Regions from separate parts of the Homo sapiens genome. Here region 1 is linked to region 2. Evidence: promoter capture Hi-C in human tissues and cell types (Jung and others, 2019). All regions are on one chromosome and are shown on one strand. The core of a region is centred on a gene start or on the middle of the fragment in contact, and the rest is flanking DNA. Distances in the headings are between cores, read along the strand shown.

Region 1 (3,181 bases), core at 1-2,500, 360 kb before region 2:
AAGCCACCTCAGTCCAGGCCTTCATTCAGGAATTTTTTTCACTTTTTTTTTCTTTTTCTTTTTTGAGACAGAGTCTCACTTTGTTGCCCAGGCTGGAGTGCAGTGGCGCTATCTCAGCTCACTGCAACCTCCACCTCCGGGGTTCAAGCGATTCTCCTGCCTCAGCCTCCTGAGTAGCTGAGATTACAGGTGCGTGCCAGCAAGCCCGGCTAATTTTTGTATTTTTAGTAGAGACGGGGTTTCACCTTGTTGGTCAGGCTGGTCTCGAACTCCTGACCTTGTGATCCACCTGCCTCAGCCTCCCAAAGTGTTGGGATTACAGGCGTGAGACACGGCACCTGGTTTCACTATTCTTTTGAGATCATGAAAGAGGCGCCTGGAAGGCAATAGGTGGAACAATTCCGAGGACAGGCCAGCACATTTTCAGGGGCCAGAGCCCGGACTGAATGTCCAGGATCTCAGGCCCCTATCTCCCTCAGCCAGTCAGTCAGTGAGCCAACAAAAATGTGCAGAGCTCCCGTTATGTGCCAGGCACAAGATACAGCAGTGAGCAAGACAGGCATGACTCTGTCCCCAGGTAAGTGACAGTCTAACTGCAGCAGCGTGAAGAGTTTCAGATCCTCGTAGGCCACAGGGGAAAAAGGTCCATTTGTCTCACCGGGAGGCTCAATATTGCCTGTCAGTCAATTATATTATTATTAATAACTACCCCTTAATGAGCACATATGATGCGTGAGGCACCATGCAAATATCTTGTTTGAATCCTAATAATGGTACTAATGGAATAAGACTCTGAAAAATTTTATGGCTGGCCCAGGCCCCACAGGTAGGCAGTATTGGACCCAGGATTCAAATCTCTGGCTGGGGTCTCTAAAGCCCAACCTCCCACTGACAAGAAGCTGCTAGATCTGGTGTCCCTGGCTGCCTAGTGAAGGGTCCTGAGAAAGATCAGCCTCCATGAGAAATCTAGCTGCTACGGCTTGCGCTATGGGGCCGACGGCTTCTCTCAAGGGGCTTCGAGATGTGGCAGTGTTTAGGTTGTGTGTAAATGTGGTTGCATTGTCAATAGGGACGCTAAAGTTCAGGCCACCTTTTCCATATTCTCTGCCAGCTCCCTGCTCAGAGATAGAGCAATTTACACCGCTTCCTTCCTACCCTACCCCTAGCCCACCCCCACTCTGAAAATTTCCCACCATCAACGGCAGAAAGCAGAGAAGCAGACATCTTCTAGTTCCTCCCCCACTCTCCTCTTTCCGGTACCTGTGAGTCAGCTAGGGGAGGGCAGCTCTCACCCAGGCTGATAGTTCGGTGACCTGGCTTTATCTACTGGATGAGTTCCGCTGGGAGATGGAACATAGCACGTTTCTCTCTGGCCTGGTACTGGCTACCCTTCTCTCGCAAGGTAAGGCTACTCCAGGTGGGTGGGGGAAGGGACCTGAGAGGGACATTACTGATGGGAGTGAGGCCCACTTGAAAGTGTTTCTTGCCAGGCACGGTGGCTCACACCAGTAATCCCAGAGCTTTGGGAGGCCGAAGTGGGAGGATCCTTTGAGGCCAGGAGTTTGAGACCAGTCTGAGCAACATGATGAGACTCTATCTTTACAAAAAACAAAAGAATTAGCCAGGCATGGTGGTGCACAACTGTAGTCCCAGCTATTTGAGAGGCTGAGGCAGGAGGGTCACTTGAGCCCGGGATTTCAAGGCTTCAGTGAGCTGTGATCATGCCACTGCCCTCCAACCTAGGCAACCTGTGAGACCTTATCTCAAAAAAAAAAAAAAGTGCTTCTCGGTGCTAGCTTCAGTTCACCAGGCACCCCAGGGGTGTCAGGAGGGCAGGGGCAGGATGTAGCATAGAGTCTGGGAAACAGGCTCTTGGCTTTGACTGACTCCAGCCATGGGTGCATGTGGGCCTAGAATGTCTCTCAGAAGGCCTTAGGCCAGAGATCTGCAGAAAATAGCTCAGTACGTATGTACCTGAATCTGGGACTGGCCATGGGAGCACAGCTTCCTGCACTACTCCTTTTAGGCCTGATGGCCTCTGGAATCAGGACTCTTGTTTGTTTGGCCATGATTATGTCATCCCTGGAGGCATGTCCTAGCACTTATGTGAATGCTTTAAGAGAAGTTAACTTTAGGTTGAGCAGGACGGAGGGAAGATTTGAGGGGTTGTTACATGGTAGGATTTTAACTCATCTCAGTTTGCCAATTTCAGTTTTAAAATGGAAAGTCCCATGTCCGAGGAACCCCTTCAACACTAAGCAAACTGGGTCCAATGGTCACCTAATAGTTGGCTGCACTAGGGCACTCAGGATTTCCACTGGAGACAGATCCCTGAAGAGGACGCGACTGTAGGACGTGAAGCATTTGATGTGCATGTGTCTCCCTGAGGATACATGCATATACTTCCAACCTGCTTCAGAAGTGTGAGCAACAGCTGTTTCAGGGTTTTCTAGAAGATGCTCTTGTATCCAAATTTGGGACTTAGTGTGAAGCCCAGGATGAATGAATGTAGCCTCCACTTTTCCCTGTGTTTGGAGGCATAGACTGTAGTGCCTCTGTGGCCTGTGGAGATGTGCTCAGGCTGTCAGAGGAACTCACTGCATCTGGAATGTTGCTGCACTCACCTCCAGCCCTAAAAGTCTCCCACAAGACTTGACTTGTGAGGAGCTCTAGGGATGGATTCAATAAAATTTTTTTCCTGTTCTCCTCCTTCTAACCAAGGGTGGAAAACTGTACATGGGATTTGCCCTGGTCCCGTTCTGGACCACTTGGCTGATAATTCAGGGGCTGGTAAACCAGCTGGTCTCCACCCACAGCCATCCCTGGCCCTGGGAAAGGCTTCAGTGTTGAGAGCCCCGCTTTCTTGGTTGTCAATGGAGCAGGGGCAATGAGGAAGGATGAGGATAAGAAGCTGAAGTGGGAGTGTTGTAGATGGCTGGGAAGTGGAATTAGATGTTTCCTTGAAGAAAAAATGCAGACATTTCCAATCGAGGAATGTTCTTCTGTCTTTCCACATCTTCCAGGTGCTTCAGTGGTCCGTGCTCCCCCTACTCCTCATCAGTGGTCTGGATTCATTTCCAGGAAGGTGCTTGGGTCAATCCTGCTCTGAGGGGTCCTCTTTTGCACCAAGGCCCCAAGACCTGTCCTCTGCTTGAATGGCATCCTCATGTCCCCCTTGACC
Region 2 (4,031 bases), core at 229-2,728:
AGTGCTTGCCTCATTCCCTAGTTTCTGGGAGGGCTTTGCCTATAGCCAGATGTCCAACCTCTGGCTGGGCAAGGACAGATGGAATAAATCAGCTCTGGCTCTACACATGGCTGAGGACATCCCCACAAGAGCTGGCACCTGTAGCTCCGAGGAGAGATACTCAATACCAATTCCTAGCTCTACTCTCCCTTTACCCCCAGTACACACCATTCACCATGGGAAACACTGCTGAAGGCATTGTCTTCTTTGTAAGAATGCAACAAACATTTCTACTTTAAGAGTCTTGTTGATCAAGCAGACTGAAGTATGTGCAAGGCCAACGGCTGGTTGGTTCCCTTTCTCTCCTCCTTGATCCTCTAAGTTCTCTCCATTTGACAGCGACTCTGCTCCCGCTCCCTAGTGTTCTAACTTCTCTACATCTCTCTAATCATGCACCTGTTTTTTATTTATTTTTTGGGGGGGAGGACTCTGTCATCTGTCTCTTGCTTTCTTTCTTATACCGTCTTTGATCTTCACGTCAGTGCCTTGATTTCGAAACATTAGACGGAAAGTGAAAAATGCAGCGAGTCGTTGTGGTATTTGGGCTGCACATCTCCGACTCAGCTCTCGATCACGTGAATGGCTGACTGCATGTTTTACTTTGTATTTTGGTGTCATGAAGAAGCAGTTTCGGTCCTTGCTCTCTGTCTCTGCTCTTGGTCCTTCCAACTCCCGGCTCTTTCATTCTGTCTCTGGGGTTTACTTTTCTTAGTTGCAGAAACCTTGCCGGAGAACTGTCTGGGTTAGGAGCCTGAACTGGGTTAGAAGCCTGAACTGGCTGGGTTAGGAGGAGAGAGGCAGGGGGCAGTGGGAGTGAGTTGGGGGCTACAGGTGGAGCAAGGGGGATCAGATCGGGGTGATCAGTGAGGGATGAAGGTGAGATGGGAGAAGGACAGACAGAGGTTAGTTGAAGAGTCGACTAAGAGAAGGGAGAGTCAGGAGATCAAAATTATTCCCCAAGGGGACAAGAAGTCCCATCATTTGAACCTAAACAGCAAAAAACCTAGAGCTAAACTTACGGCTCATCTAGAAGTGGGTGGATGATGAGGTTTGCGGGTTGGGGGTTTGGCCTTGCGCATACTTCTCTATCCTTCCCAATCCGTCAGTTCCTGTCAATTTCAGCCTCTTCCACTTCCACAACAGGTGAGCCTGAGATCCAGGTTTGCCAGAGTAAGGGAGCACCCGGGCACCGCTCTGCCAGAGGGCCAGCCAGCCAGGGCTCTCCACTGGATGGAGAACTTTAATGGAGCGGGCGCGGAGAGGGCAGGGCAGGGAAGGGCCGCGTCCCGGAGCCTTACCATGAGCGTCTGAGCCAAGACGGAGGCTGAGGAGCGCCGCCAGCAGCACTACGAGGCACGGCAGCATCCTGGGCGCGCCGCATCGTCCGGGGCCGGAGCGGAGCCGGCCTGCGCGCCTCCAGCTACCCTTGGGCTGGGACTGACAGCTCCGCCGCCCGCTCCGCCAGCGCCCCGCAGGGCTGACGTCAGCGGGGCGAGGCCTACAGACGCCCCGCCCCCGAGGCCGCGGACGGGGAACCACTGTCCCACAGGGCTACCGCCTGGGGCAACCCGAGGCTGTCCTGGGGCGCTAGCGGGCTCCGGCCACCCCTCCCTTTCCTTCCCTCTGGGCCTCCAGTGCCTTCGGATCAAAGTGGTCCGGGTAGCCCGGCCGGCCGTGGGTACGTGTGTGTGGGTGTGTGCGCGCGCGCGTGTGTGCATGTGCTGGGAAGCAGGTGGCCAGGCACAGCCTCGGCCCTGAGTGCGGAAGGTGGGGTGAGGGCGTCCGAGCCGCTTTTGCCTGGCGTGCCGGCTTGGCGTTAAGGATGTGGCCGCGGCCGCTCCGAATGGGGAGGAGGTAGTTGCAGGCCCTTGAGGGCAAAGGCGCCAGGACGCCGGTGTGAGTCTTGGCGTTGCCCCAGGGCCTCCCCGTCTGGGGGTCTGAGGACACCGATGGATGAATACTGAGTAGTCCCCTACCTAATTGTTGGAGGGGGGTCCACAACTAAGCAGTTTATGCAGACCTGCCCCCAAAGTCCCAGGAAGCTGAGAGACCCAAGAAAGAGGCTTTTAACCAGCAGCTCAGCAGCTGAGCCTCAAACCGCGATTTTTAAAATTTTTTTATCTATTTTTTTTTTTTACAGTCTCGCTCTGTCGCCCAAGCTGGAATGCAGTGGCGTGATCTCGGATCACTGCAACCTTCGTCTCCCAGGTTCAAGCGATTCTCCTGCCTCAGCCTTCCGAGTAGCTGGCATTACAGGCATGTGCCACCACGCCTGGGCTAATTTTTGTATTTTTAGTAGAGACGGGGTTTCACCATGTTGGCCAGGCTGGTCTCGAACTCCTGACCTCAGGTGATCCACCCGCCTCAGCCTCCCAAAGTGCTGGGATTACAGGGGTGAGCCACCGCGCCCAGCCTTAAACCGTGTTTTAAACTTAGTTTCTCTTCTTTCCTTTTTTCTCTTCCTCCTCTGGGCCTCAAGATATAATTTTGAGACAAACTGCATGTATGTTACCTCTCATCTTAAAACACAGCCTCAGGACGTGCTGTGACCTCCACTCCCTTTCCTGTCCCATACTGTACTCCCATGCCTTACGCACGTTTATTTACCTACGTGCTTGTTAAGCACACGCTATGCTCTTACCTGGTCATATATTTCCTTAGATGCCTCAGGAGCTGCGTCCTGATAGGGACCAGGCACCTCCGGAATTCTCTCTCCAACAAAAGCTTACTTCAGGAGTTGAACATATACCCTGCTGAAGAGTAACTAATTTATAACCTGGCAGGATCCACGATTGCACCAGCCCCTCCACCAAATAAGACGATAATTAAAGAGGACCACTGGAGCAAGTCACACCACCTGGTACCTCCTAACCTCCCCCTTGCCTTTTCTGCATTTCAGATCCTTTCTTAAAAAACCCCTGCGTTCCCCCCATGAATTGAAGAGTGGAATTGTTTGCTGCTCTTCCCCTGCTAGCATGGCAGCTAGCAGATTTTCCTTTATTATCCATTCTTTCTACAAGCAGAGAGCAGCCAGATCCTTTTGCAGGTTACAGGCTGACACATCCAGTTTCTTCGAAAAAAACATTTAATAAGGACTTATAAACAGAAGCTACGTTTGTGTCTCCATGATTCACCCCCAGGACCAGGGCTTATAGACCACAGGGGAAGGGTGATTCAGAAAAGATGTGTAGGACAGTTGAAGTATGATAACATCAAGGTTGTTTGACCTAAGGGCCGGATTTACAGTAAGTGTTTGCACTTACACAAGGAGCAATTGATAAATTGGGAATCTCAGAGGTCTTCTGGGAGGCTCCAAAGCCAACACGGCCAAAACTGTGGATTAGCATCCAACATGGAGTTGCTTTAGCCTCCATAAGGACTTCTCCCAGTCTCTTCTGGGTTTCCCTTGCTTGCTTGAAATCTGATATTCAGACCAATTTTTGTGTTGGGTAATAGCACTACTGGAGTGCTGGGTAACACCTCAGCACATCCTCAGTCTCTCGCACCTCTGTGTCACTTGGCTCATCTGAGGCCATCTCCAGGTGAACCAAATATGTGAGGATATGAGAGACAGACTGTCCATCACTTTTTCTTGGAGGCTGACACCTGCTTCAAAGTGTGTGTGTGTGTGTGTGTGTGTGTGTGTGTGTGTGTGTGCACTTGCAGTCATATATGATTTGCAGTGGCCAGTCTGTGGATTTGGATTTCATTGTGGTGTGGAGAACGTTGTCTGTTTGCCAAGTGCATATGTGTGTTTGGGACTGTGTGTGCATCCCTCAAGCCCTGCCCTTGTTCTCAGACAAACCAAAGAAGAGGGGCTCAGGACATTTCTGGCCAGCAAGGCCCCACTCCAGGCCTGCTGCCCCACCCACCCGGCCATACCCCGCCCTGCCTGTATTGTAGTTTGTACCTTCATTTGTTCCTGAGCTCTTGTCCTGTGTTCAAGAAGAATGAGAATTCGCTGACAGTTGAAGGGTGAGGATGGGCAGAGA

The links. The method cuts DNA at HindIII sites, captures the fragments that hold promoters and counts their contacts. A contact is called where the count stands out against the background at its distance.
Region 1: a contact is called between the fragment with the promoter of CD3D here and the fragment with the promoter of IL10RA in region 2, in 1 of the 25 tissues and cell types used here (mesendoderm cells).

Annotation. Positions count from the first base shown.
Region 1 is chr11:118,340,774-118,343,954 of GRCh38, reverse strand. It overlaps CD3D (CD3 delta subunit of T-cell receptor complex), which reads left to right and starts at 1,250. Exons shown (of 5, transcript NM_000732.6): 1 at 1,250-1,402. The coding sequence starts at 1,348. The HindIII fragment of the contact is 13,514 bases long and covers 1-3,181 here.
Region 2 is chr11:117,983,841-117,987,871 of GRCh38, reverse strand. IL10RA (interleukin 10 receptor subunit alpha) reads right to left here and starts at 1,478. Exons shown (of 7, transcript NM_001558.4): 1 at 1,338-1,478. The coding sequence starts at 1,404. RefSeq lists enhancers at 301-600, 1,991-2,050 and silencers at 1,401-1,680, 1,701-1,800. The HindIII fragment of the contact is 15,047 bases long and covers 1-4,031 here.